3 separate regions of the Homo sapiens genome follow, and all the other regions are linked to region 1. Evidence: promoter capture Hi-C in human tissues and cell types (Jung and others, 2019). All regions are on one chromosome and are shown on one strand. The core of a region is centred on a gene start or on the middle of the fragment in contact, and the rest is flanking DNA. Distances in the headings are between cores, read along the strand shown.

Evidence for each region. The method cuts DNA at HindIII sites, captures the fragments that hold promoters and counts their contacts. A contact is called where the count stands out against the background at its distance.
Region 2: a contact is called between a fragment that was not itself captured here and the fragment with the promoter of PTPRT in region 1, in 1 of the 25 tissues and cell types used here (dorsolateral prefrontal cortex).
Region 3: a fragment that was not itself captured here is called in contact with the fragment with the promoter of PTPRT in region 1 in 1 of the 25 tissues and cell types used here (dorsolateral prefrontal cortex).

The regions. Positions count from the first base shown.
Region 1 is chr20:43,187,697-43,191,486 of GRCh38, reverse strand. It overlaps PTPRT (protein tyrosine phosphatase receptor type T), which reads left to right and starts at 1,581. Exons shown (of 31, transcript NM_007050.6): 1 at 1,581-1,841. The coding sequence starts at 1,754. It overlaps PTPRT-DT (PTPRT divergent transcript), which reads right to left and starts at 1,422. Exons shown (of 3, transcript NR_186414.1): 1 at 1,237-1,422. The HindIII fragment of the contact is 13,787 bases long and covers 1-3,790 here.
Region 2 is chr20:42,178,199-42,182,471 of GRCh38, reverse strand. The region is part of intron 16 of PTPRT (protein tyrosine phosphatase receptor type T); the gene reads left to right. Among named protein-coding and RNA genes, the nearest start is that of CHD6, 560 kb to the right of the region's middle. RefSeq lists a silencer at 2,406-2,606. The HindIII fragment of the contact is 4,223 bases long and covers 613-4,273 here.
Region 3 is chr20:42,043,402-42,047,622 of GRCh38, reverse strand. The region is part of intron 2 of LOC101927182 (a long non-coding RNA gene); the gene reads right to left. It also overlaps a transcript of PTPRT not described here. Among named protein-coding and RNA genes, the nearest start is that of CHD6, 430 kb to the right of the region's middle. The HindIII fragment of the contact is 4,523 bases long and covers 1-4,119 here.

The DNA.
Region 1 (3,790 bases), core at 332-2,831:
TTGGTAGAATTATTAATCTCCAAAGCAGCTTGTAAAAGGTTCAACTCCCAGGCCACCCCCGACAGGCCTGCCAAATTCCACTCTCCCCAGCAGGGGTCTGGGAAGCAGGACTTGGAGAAATCTTCCTGGTAGTTCTTTGACCAGGCAAGTGTGGGAGGCACTGGCTGGTCCAACAGGCTAGTCCAAGCACGTCAGCTTTTGAAAGTGGTCACGGTCATGGTGGTGGTGGTGGGAGTCGGGGTCCGGAGAGGGGTGGAAGAATTTGCCTGGGATTGTAAATTGGGCTTCCATGCCAGGGAACTGGGCCACTTTACCTAGTGGGGACTGGGAACTGGGGACTGACAGAGTGACGCCCTGTGTTCTCTGCCATGCCAACTTGGGTCCAGAGCCTGGGGCTCCCCACTTTTGGAAACCCTGCCATGCTTGATTTTCACAATTCACTTACAGTCTCCCCAGTCCAGTCCCTGGTACCCCAACAAGGATGGGGGTGGGGGGCTGTGCTGACACAGAAGAAGGAGGGCTTTGGCCAGGTAGCAAAGTGTTCACAAAGTGTGAATCCCTTAAGCATTTCTGGGTATCCCTGCCCCTGGCTTTTACATCTCAGACCCCCAGCCAAGACTCAGGTACCAGCTGCCTCCCAGGACAGCAGAGAGCCAGGCTGTGGGCCGTGGGCTGCCAGGGACAGCTCCAACCCTGATCTATGGTTTTAGGCTTTCAGCCCCAACCAGGTCTTTGTTAAGACCGAGAAGAAAAGGGAAAAAGCTACAAGGTTCTGTCTCCCTAGAAAAGGAAAGGGAAGGCTGCCAGGGAAAAATTGTAGGGGGTGGGGGGATGCCTCATGCCCCTTCTGCGCCCCCTTCCGCGTGGTGGTGGGGACAAGAGAGAGATGTGGGTGAAGAAGAAGGTGGGGTGGGCGGCTAATTGAGGGGGACGACGATTGTGGCGCGGTCAGCGATGCGCCCAGAAGAGTGTGAGTGGGTTGTGTGTGTGTGCGCGCGCGCGCTCTTAGATGAAATTCTCATCTCAGGGTGTGCCCGAGACCCTGGCCAGCAGCCGCCTGCCCCAGCTTTGGGCAGACGCCCCCACCCGCTTTCGCAATTCACCTGGCCCCTTATCTTGAGTTGCGAGGGCTGCTCCCTCCCTCCCTCTTCTCGCCACCGAACCCCCATTCACCTGTTCCCCACCCCGAGTTCAAACGGCTGCTGCAGCTTCCTCCTCCCCGCACCGCCCCCGTACCTGCGCCCCCACAGGGCAGACGATGCTTGGCTGCGCGGCGCGGCGCGGGGCGAAGAGGCGAGGACCCTGCCCGGCGTGTGGGTGCGGGGGTGATGTGTGGACGCGCGTGACTGTGCCAGCGGCCCGAGCTGGTCGGCCCCGGAGAGGGTGCGCGGGGGAGCCCGCGTGTGCCAGCCGCGGGCGTGTGCCAGGCGCGGGCGTGCGCGTGAGGGTGTGTGCACGGCCGAGGCGGAGCGCCCGGGCGGGCGGCGGCGGCGGCGGCGGCGGCAACGGCGGCGGCGTTAGGACTCGGGGGACACCGCCCCCCGCCCCCCGCGTCCCGCCCCCGCCCAGCCTCCCGCCTCAGTTCGCGCCGCGCCTCGGCTTGGAACGCAGGAGCGCCGGCTCCGGGAGCCCGAGCGGAGCCAGCCGCGCGCACAGCCAGCGGCCGCGCCGGCGATGCGGGGCCACCCCGCGCCCGCCCCAGTCCCGGCCCCGGCCCCCGCGGGAAGGGGCTGAGCTGCCCGCCGCCGCCCGGATGGCGAGCCTCGCCGCGCTCGCCCTCAGCCTGCTCCTGAGGCTGCAGCTGCCGCCACTGCCCGGCGCCCGGGCTCAGAGCGCCGCAGGTGAGTGCGCCCGCCCGGCTCCCCTGGGCTCCCCGCTCCCTCCTGGATGCGCGCGGGCCCCCAGCCGCGGGGCCCTCGGAGGAGAAAGTTGTGTGGGCTCGCGGGGGCGCGGGTCCCCATGGCCGGAACCCGGGTCTCAGCTTGCAGGCGCGGGAAGCAGTGTCCCCGCGCGCCCCGGCCAGCGAGCCCGGCCCCTCGCGTCCCTCGGCAGCCCGCGTTTGGCGAAGTTCCCCGCTTCAGTTTCCTGCCGGCCCCCCGGGCTGGAGTAACTTTCCGCGGTTGTTGCGAATATTTCCACTTGCTGCCTCCCACTTGTCGGAATCTGCCACTTGAGTGTTTGGGGCGGCGAGACGAGGAGCGGCACCGACGCCCGGGGTGGAGCGTTCTCTCCCGGGCAGCTCCTCGGGCAGCGCGCGCTTTTAGTGGGGAGGACAGGTCCCCAGCAGGCCGAGGCTGCCGGGGCGGCGGCTTTTCTTTTTTCCTCGGAGATACAGGAAGCTCTCCATTTGCTCTGAACACGCTGCTCCCCTAAGCAGGCCGCTGTAGGCACCCGAGGGGATGTTTGCGTTGATGACCGAGAGCAATACCTCCGCCCTACCCGCTGGCTTTTCTCCGAGGTAGCTGGGCGCCCGTGTTAAGGCCCTTGGAGGGGAGTGGATTTGACCCGTGAGCGCGTCCGCTCCTGAAAAGTTCGGGGAACTCATATTTGGGTTTGGCCACGGGAAGGCGGTGAGCAGAGGTAGTTCCCCAGAGTAGGGGGAGCGGGGGCGGGGGGGTGGTGCCTGCCGTGCTCCTAAAGGCACGTTGGCGGGTGCTGGAGGGCACCACAGTCCAGGGTCTTACACATCACCAAGCCCCACCGCAGGCAGCTTCCACCCCCGAGCCCCCCCCCCCCCAAGAGTAGCGGCGGAGGGAAGAGAAGGGAGTGCTGCAGGTGTACTTCCAAGTTCAAAATCACCTTAAAGTTTCTTAGCACCGATTGCTTTTGGTGTAACCACGCCGGCCTGAGGTGGCTGGGATTGCGGGGACAGGCTGAGATCAGCCCGTGGGACGCAGGAACAGGCTGGTTTCGGATCGCTAAGCAACAGCTGTGCCCATTTATTATTTCACCGAAAGAAGGAAAGGAAGAAAGAAAGAGCAAAAGAACGAACCTGTGGGGAGGTACAGCGTCTTTGCACAAGCTGCGTCTGAGGTTAAGGGCCGCTGGAAGGACATTCCGTTGGAAATGCTTTAGAGCCTTCCTTGCTTGGTACTAAAATGGAAGCGGAATAGGCGACTTCTGTGAAGGGACAGCCTGTTTCCCTGGCTGGGAAGTTGGGTGACGAAGACACTCCTTTTGAGGTGTGTGAAGCTGAAAGGTTGGATTAGCAAGTGAGAGAAGAGGGACAGCTACAGCACCATTCTAAAGATGGTGCACAATTCTTGTTTTCCTCATTTTGGGGGGTGTGTTAGGTGTGCTAGGGGAGGGAGGGGTACTAGGGAGGATGCCCGGGGCAGTCCTGGGGATCCAGGCATGATTCGTGACTCAGATTTTATATCCTCTAAGGCATGACCGGCCAACCACACATTAATACCACTCACGTTCCCGCGGCAGAAACAGGATCAAAAATATTCCATCACGGGTCTCGAATCGTTCTTGGGTAGCAAGCGGTAAAACCCGTACCGGCTCGGGAAGCTGTCCAGTGCTGAACGCCGCCCGTTCCGGATGCTCCCGCCAGGTGGCGCTCGCCCACAACTATTAAAATGCAAATCTGGTTGCTTTCATATCAGGAATAGAACTTCTTTTCAATTTTTAAATGAGTAATGTGTTTATTCAGCAGCCTTTTGTTAAAACATTTAGAGAAGTGTGAGGAGCGAGCACCTTTTCTTTGTTTGCTCTTTAGAATGCAGGAGAAAGAAAAGAAATCCTGGAATATGGTTTGGGAAGAAATCTGTGGTTCTTTTGGGTC
Region 2 (4,273 bases), core at 1,475-3,974, 1.0 Mb after region 1:
CAGCTGTGTTCTAGCAAATACACACACTTGCAAATCTGGTCCCTGTCACCCTCTCTGTAACCCTTCTTATTCTATCCCATCATTCTCCTTTCATATTGATCCATCAGCAGAAGTATACCAATAACTCACTATCTTTGTTATGCTTTATTTATGAAATAGCCATTTGCCTAGCGTGTTCTTCAATTTTAAAAAACAAACTCACAATGCCACTGCTCAACCAAAAATCCGTTATTGGCTTCCCATTGCCCTCCAGATGAAGTAAAAATTAACCTCGTGGCCTACAAGGCTCAGAATGACATGACTTCTGTCAGCATCTTTAGTCTCATCTCTGGCTACTCTCTGTCTTGCTCAATATACTCCAGTCATATTGACCTCCTTCCTATTCTTTGAAAACACTAAGCATTTCCCAAAATATGGCTTTCACAATTCTGTTTGCTCTTTCCAGAACAGTCTTCCACTCTATATTTCACTGTTTAGCCACTTTTTATCCTTCAGGTCTATGATTAAATGTCTTCTTTTGAGGGATTCCCTAAATTGTCTATCTAAACAGTGGCCACTTGTTGTTTTTTTTTAATTTTACTACATTCTAGTCCCTCTTAGCATGTGTCAGAAATTTCTTGTATGCAAATGTTTATTCATTTAATAATTTTTTGGCTAATGTCTGTCATCTTCACCAGACTTTTAAACCATGATTGCATAGACAACTTCTGTCCGGGCTTCTACTATATCCCTGGAGACTAGTATGGTGCTTGGCCTATGAATACGATTGAGTGGTATTTGTTGAATGAATCATTATGCTAATTTTAAGTCAGGATAGATCACAATGGTTCACTTTCACTATTCAGTATTCAGTCAACTGATCTTATGCATTGCTGGGACAATGAGGACCTGCAGACATAGCGATGACTAGGGTTACTCTTAGATTTTAATCCCATAGAGGAAGGTTGAGGGAGGAGGACAAGGGAGGGGACCATTGCACTAGTCTGGGAGAGATATATGGTGCACTTTGCACCTCCATTTCTTAGAAAGTCCTAATCCTTGTATCTTTGTCCTAGTCATCAGTTCTAAAGGCCCCATCACCAAATACTGGCTTCCTTGGACTCTCTACCACTCAGTGTAGCCCTGGAAAACAGAGGGAACACTCTTCAGACCCACTTTGTGTCCCCTACTGCCCCTACCCTTGTGATCTCCCCTCTCTCCTCCAGAGGGCTCTAGGCTTCTAGCCTTTTACACTTCCCCAGTCACAGCTTACTCTTCTCCAATTTCATGCCCTTGTGAGCCTTCCCAATATCTGGCATAATCTGAAAAGTCAATTTACTCTTATGTATTAAGGGATGTATCATATTGTATTTAAATGGGAAAGTACAAGAAACTAATATTTATTGAGCCCTAACTGTGTGCCAAGGACTATGCTAGATGCTGTGCATACGTTATATCATTTAATCCTTAAAACCTATGAGTTGATGATTATTGTTGGTACTAGGCTTCTTTCACACATGTGGAGATTGAGGTTCAGGGAGATTAAATAACTTGCTCAAGGTCACATAGCTATTAGTAGTAGAGCTAGGATTTAAACTTAATCTTTCTCTTGCATATGATCCTACTACTATAATGTACTCCCTCCCGAATAGTGAGAAATATGCGGACACCTCTGAAGCCACTAAGTAAGAGGATGGCATACTGGGACAGTGGTGTCTTAAAATCAGAGGATATAGGCTCTTGTTTACTCCACTGATTTCTAAGATTGCACTACTCTCTTCAGAGGTTAGAGTGTAACAAGCTTCTGAACATGCTGCCACTCATTTATTCAACAAGGTTTGTTGAGCACCTACTATGTGCCTGACATATTATGCACTTTTAATATACATCAGTGAAGAATACAGAAATTAAAAATTCCCTGTCTTTCTAGAGCTTACATTCCATTGATGGTAGGAAGTGGAAAGAGAGACAGGAAATAAGCAATGGACAGCAAAAGATAAGTACATTATATGATATGACATAATAACAAGTGAGGGTGCACTGAAACAATAGAACATGCTGAATGGGATCAGGAGTCATAAGTGGAGGAGGATTGCAGTTTTATAGAAGATGACATCTGACTAAAGACTTTAAAAAGGTAACAGATGTGAGCCATGTCAGGAAAGAGTGTCTCTATTAGAGGCTCCCAAGGCAAGCATGTGCCTGATATGTGGAAGCTAGAACCCTGTTCCAGCTGTAAAGGTCAGTCAAAACCAGTGGAACCCATAAGAAATATGGACTTCTCCTCTAAATTTAGATCCTTTCAGAAGGTACCATTGTAAATTAAATGGGTTGAAACCATGGTGCTTCCAAAAAATAGTGAAGACCCTTGTGCCTATGAGAGCTGAGTCTCACCACTAGCCTAGCCTTCTGGGGTAAGGAGAAAACTCTGTAATCTTTGACTTCCTTGTTTATGACAAAACACGTCTATCTGCAGGAATCTTCCCGGAGCCACCGCATCCAGGATCTGTCCTTGGTGCTGACCCTGATCTTCTTTAGCTCAAGATGATCTAGCATTGATTTCTGCATCTTCTTGCCCATTGCTGGGTTCTGCTATTACTACAGCTGGCTATACTTGGCTATTCCATGCCTTTCTTTAGGCTAGTCACCCATACTATCATCATGGTGATTGCTCCAGCCCCCCAGATTCCGGTACACCTACCCCATTCAGACTTAGTCCCTTGGCCCTGCTTGGCAAAGAGCCCAGTGTAATACTGTTAAGGATGTTAGCTGGCACAGTCACTTCTGTCATTGTTTTCTGAAAGCATCATTGCTTTTTCAACTGACCCTAAATGTGGTGAGGGTTTAGTCACCATTCCAAATCATTTATTTAGCATGAAAATTTATTAGTTAGGCCATTGTTTAGCAAATTCATCACATTATATTTTTTACTTAGCATTATCACTTAATTAGCGTTTTATTACTGGAATTGGCTGTCAATTATGTGGCTAATTCATTGTCTTAGGGAATGGATTTTTTATCTGCGTAAAGCAATTGAAAGTACATTGTTAACTCTTTAACGATTAAAGATTGTTGTCAATGGCAATTCATGTGATAAGGAAAATTAAACCATTTACTTTCCTTGAAAAATCAGATCTTGGAAAACTCTTTGGAAAAGTGTAAAGAGGGTACTTTAGAAGCTTTCATGAATTAAAAAACTTTTATTAAGTGAATGCCTTGGAATACTTGGCAAAGCTAAGCAAAGTCAGCTGGAAGATTTTGACTGGACTCCTTGGAATGAATTATTATAATATACTCTCATATGTGTATATTTAAATGTTCTTTCATCGACATTACCTCTTTTGGTTCTCACAAAAACATTGCAGAATGATATTAGGATTTGTGGTTGGCAAACTTTAAGATGGCCCCAATGATCCCTGCCTCCTATGCCACATTCTTATATAACGCCCTTCCTCATTGCAGCCAAGATCTAGTGACTGGCTTCCAATGAATAGGATATGATAAAGTGATGAGATGTCCCTTTCAAGATTTGTCTTTAAGAAGACTGTGGCTTTTATCTTGGGTGCTCTCTCTCACTCCCACTTGTCTGTTCCTTGGGAAGCTAGCTACTATATTGTAAGTTGACCTATTGGCAAGAAATCGAGGGAGATGCCCAGCCAACAGCCAGCAAGGAACTGAGTCCCATACTGCAGTAGCCCATGAAAAAATGAATCTGTCAGTATCATGTCAGTGATTATGAAATCAGTTAACTTGAATTCTCTCCCAGCTGAGTCTTCAGATGAGATCATTACCACAGCGGTCAGCTTGAGTGCAACCTCACAAAAGACCTTGAGCCAGAGATACACATCTAGGCTGCAACCAGATTTCTATCTGCAGAAACTGAGATCGTATATGTTTGTTATTTTAAGCTGCTGTGGTTGGGGGTAGTTTGTCAAGTAGCAGTGGATAACTAATACATGGCTTAACATGTGAGATGTTAATTAATTTGCCCAAAGCCTTTGACTAATAAGTAGTAGAGCCAGGATTTAACCCTGGTTCTTCTGATGCATTTCAATAGACAAGAAGATAGGAATTACAGTCCAGACCTCTCATTGCAGCTGCCAGGGATCCTCAAAGCTTTGACATCCCATAAGGGCAACTATTCAGGGACTGTTTCCCTGTAACATTGACTCCCTTATGACTTGCACACCTTTATTACTATGAGAATCACTAGGATTCTTCAGAGGCTGGCAAGCAGGCTTGAAAAACAGATCTTCTGGCTGGGCACGGTGGCTCTCGCTTGTAATCCCAGCAC
Region 3 (4,221 bases), core at 609-3,108, 1.1 Mb after region 1:
AAGCTTACAAGAAGCTAATGAATATACCTGAATGCCAGTATTTAAATTCAGGTATGAGAAATGCAAAATCAACCATTATCTATCCACAGAGAATCTGCATGGAAGGCCAATTCATCACGATATGATTCTCATGTGACCATGAGCTCAGTGCAAGTGGAACTGGCTATGGGACCAGAATGTGTAACAAGCTGAATGAAGAGGGTCTGGTGGCCTGTCTTCAAAGGAAGAGGGTCTTGTCACTTGCCAAGCTGTCTGACAGCCCAGGCAGCAATCCCCCAGGGGTAGTATAGGTCCTCAACCAATTTAGCCTATTTGCTAAACAAGGTTTCCTATTTGCTAGGATTGGGGCTGAGCCTAGCTATCTCCTACCTCACCCCCAATTAATGACAGTGTGTTTGTAGATGCATCAGTATCACCCAATAGGCTGTACCAAAGATCTTGTCCCACTTCTGGTCTGATTGACATTACGTGTTTAAGGCAACCTCACAAAGTTGTGGGGTTACCTTAACCCCCAACAAGTTACTTGTCCACACTAAGTTTTCATTTCCTCATTGGAGAAGTTTGTCAGGGCCTATGCAAGAATTAATCCACATGGCACAGTGCAGAACCCAACTCACAGGGAGCAATTCTATGTAACACAGTGAAAGTATCAGGCATCCCAAATCATCTCAGGGAGGGCTGGGTGCCAGCTGTCATGGCAGCCCCCAAAGACATGAGGAACCACATCAGAGAGAAACTGAATCCCTCAGGCGTACTTCTGTGGCTACAGGCAGAGCCAGGAATCCTGTGTCCCTCCCTCCGTGCCCCCTACAACACACAGACACAGACACACACACACACACACTCACATGACAACCTTTTCAATGTGTACACGTAACCAGCAGTGTTCTTCCTCGGCCTAACTAAACAAATTGATCAAGAGTCAATACAGGTCCTAATTACAGACTCTGCACTGGAAGATTGATAGAGGGAGATAAAGAGGGAAGAACAGGCCCTTGATGGGCGCCTATAATGAGGTGTCACTGGTCCCCACTGTAAGTCGTTTATAAACATGGTCTCACGTCTGTGGCTGTCAGCATCCCTGCCAGAGCTTAATGAGCTGCTCCTTCCTGCCCTGGGGTTAATGTCAGAAGCTGATCATGTTTTCTGCTGCAAGAGGCACTGGCTGCCTGATGGTTGGTGAATTTCATCTGCAAATGTCCCCATTCACTCAAGAAATGCATTTTCCCAAAACTCCTGGCAGAGATAAGCATTGATTTTTCCATCTGAGCCTCTCAACCCCCAGGAAGTGCCATTGTTGAATTCTCCACTTGCAGCCTCTTAGATTGGGTGGGTTCAGGAGAAGAGTGTCGGCAACACCTGGAGTCTTGAGTCCTTGAATAAAGCGATTAAGAAAGGAGACTTGCAGGCTCGGGGTACAGAGGCTTTCAAGAGCTGTGATCATGGGCACTAAGACCCTAATGGACCTTGGGTGCTCCCAGCCCCAGGAAAAGGCCAGTCCAGCAACTATACAGACCAGACCAACGCAGAGGCGGAGGACATGACTCCAGGGCACTTGCCCACTTCCTCACCTCCATGAGGTCAAGGGAAACCTCCCCCACCAACCCCTGCCCCTTTAGACATAGCCTTGGGAGAGTAGTTGAGGGGTAAATATTGTAAGAAAAAAATCTGAGAGACTTAGTGTATTGCTAAAATAGACTGAGCATGTAACTAGAGGGATGATTTCAATGACTACCTTGAATTATGTTTCTGGATTCAACTAAATTGTGAGGGTCAGCTGATGATTTATAGAGAAATAAAGAAACTACATTTGCTTTGGGAAAAAAAGGAGAAAGGGAGACTTGGCCTCAGTTGTTCAGGTATGAATCCTGGCTTTACTATCTTCAAGTTATGTGGTGTCTGTAAGTCTCAGTTTCCTCATCTGTAAACTGGGAACAATAATAGTACTGTTTAAAAGAAAAAAAAAAGGACTTTCCACTTGTACAGGCACTGAATGCTGAGTTTTACCACACTGGCAATACTAACCAACTGAAGCAGATAAACATCTACGGACTTGGAGTGACCTCAGGACACCAGATCTTCCCTAGACCAACCTGAAGCCTCTCGCTTGGTGAATATAAAAAGACATTTTAATGTATGGATCAATTGATTTATTTTGTCTAATCTAGGATGCAAACTTCGATTCTTAATTAGCATAATCACAACGAAACTTTCTTGCCTGCACGTAAAACTCACTGACATTTTCCCTTCAGGGAGCCACTCAGTGTATTTCTTCCCCAAGTTATCTTCCCTTGGTTGTTAAATTAGTAAATTCAGTGCTGACTCTTGCAATCACTGTGATGGTCTTGGTCCTCCTTTAATAGTACCTCCTTTATTAACAGTACTCTCTCTGGTAGGTAGAATAATCCCCTCCCAAAGGTGTCTATGTCCTAATCCCTGGAACCTGTGAATATGTTAGGTTACATGGCAAAAGAAAATTAAAGTTGCAGATGGAATTAAGGTTGCTAATCAGCTGACCTTGAGGTAAATAGATTATCCTGGATAATCCAGGTAGACCTAACATAGTCAAAAGCATCTTCAAACAGAGATGAGAGAGACAGAAGAGAACCAGAGATGGTAGTGTAAGGACGACTCAGGTGACACTGCTAGCTTTGAAGGCAGAAGGGGCAATAAGCCAAGAAATGCAGGCGGCCTTTAGAAGTGGGAAAAAGGCCAGGAAATGGATTCTTCCCTAGAGTTTCCACAAAGGAAGACAGCACTTCCAACACCTTAAAATTCTAGCCCAGTTAGTTTCATGTCAGATCTCTGACCTCCAGAATTGTAATGTAATCAGTCTGTGTTGCTTTAAGTCACCAAGTTTGTGATGGCTTATCACAGCAGCAGTGGGAGACGAAAGCGAATACCTCTCTCATTGGGTTTCTTCTGAGGATTAAGTGAGTTCTTACAGATAAAGTACTTAGACTCATGCCCAGCAAATCACAGATATTCACTTAACATTATTTTACTTATAAATGCCATCAACTTCTTTATTAATAAGGTTTCCTGCCTCCTCCCTCTTTGTGACCACTCCCATGACTTAACTCTGGCCAACAGACATGGAGGACAGAGAAGAACTGCCCTTTACTGGGCAATTCCTGTGACCAGGCCTTGTGCCAGGCTCTATGCCCAATGCCTAGCATGAGTCCTCTCGATTGGTGTGTGTCTGGAATCATCTTCTTTGGAAAACCAGAATGAGCCTGGGCCTGAGTGGTTGTAAAGTCCTCATAATCAAATCATCAGCTATTTGGGACATCTGAACAAGTACACACCATCAATTACCAGCACACAACTCTTCTCCAAACACCAGCACAAGGCACTGCGTGGCTGGCATTTTCTCAACAGTCATTGTCAAGGGAGCTGAGCTGCCCACAGAGTCCAACTGGAGGAGGCCTCTGCTTCATCTGGGCTGCTAAGCCCTTGGCTTACCCCTCCTTCTGGGAAACAACCACCCCATGTTGTCCTTATCTGTCTGGTTTCTCATTTGACTGTGACTTCCTTGAGGACCAGGACAATGCCTATTTACTCCTCTGTCCCAGTGCTGAGCTCTGGCATGCTGGTCTCAGTGAGTCTTTGTTGCCTGAAGGAGGAGTGAGATTACAAATCATTTTTACTTGTTCCTTTACAAAGCAGGAGCTCTCGAGAGCAATGCTGAGATGAATAGTTTGGGCCTTTTACGTCTCTCACTTGTCTCACTCTAGTCCCAGCCCTGCCCACTGCAGTCAGATATTGTTTCTCCAGCAACTGTTGCTGAAGCTTAAAGCAAATCTCATTAAACTTTTTAATAATAAACAAATCGATTGTCCAACATCACTGTAAGATGATAAAAGTGTCTTGTATATTGGTAAAGATAAAGCTGGGTTATGCTGTGATAGCAAATTAATCCTGAAATTTTAGTGGCTTAACAGAGCAGATGTTTATTTCTCACTCATGTTCCATGTCCACAGCGGCTCTGCAAGGGGACTCTGCTCCACACAGTCACTCAAGAAGCCAGGATGACAGAGGCTCCACTACCTTGTAGCTGTACCATCTGGAATATGTGACCTCATGAGTCATCACAGAAAGGTAAAGTGAGAACCGGAGAACTCACCCCTCATCTCTATACTTTGGCCCAGAAGTAATATGCTTTATTTTTGCATACAGCCCATTAGCTGGAAATGATTGCGTGTCTCACATAATTGCAAG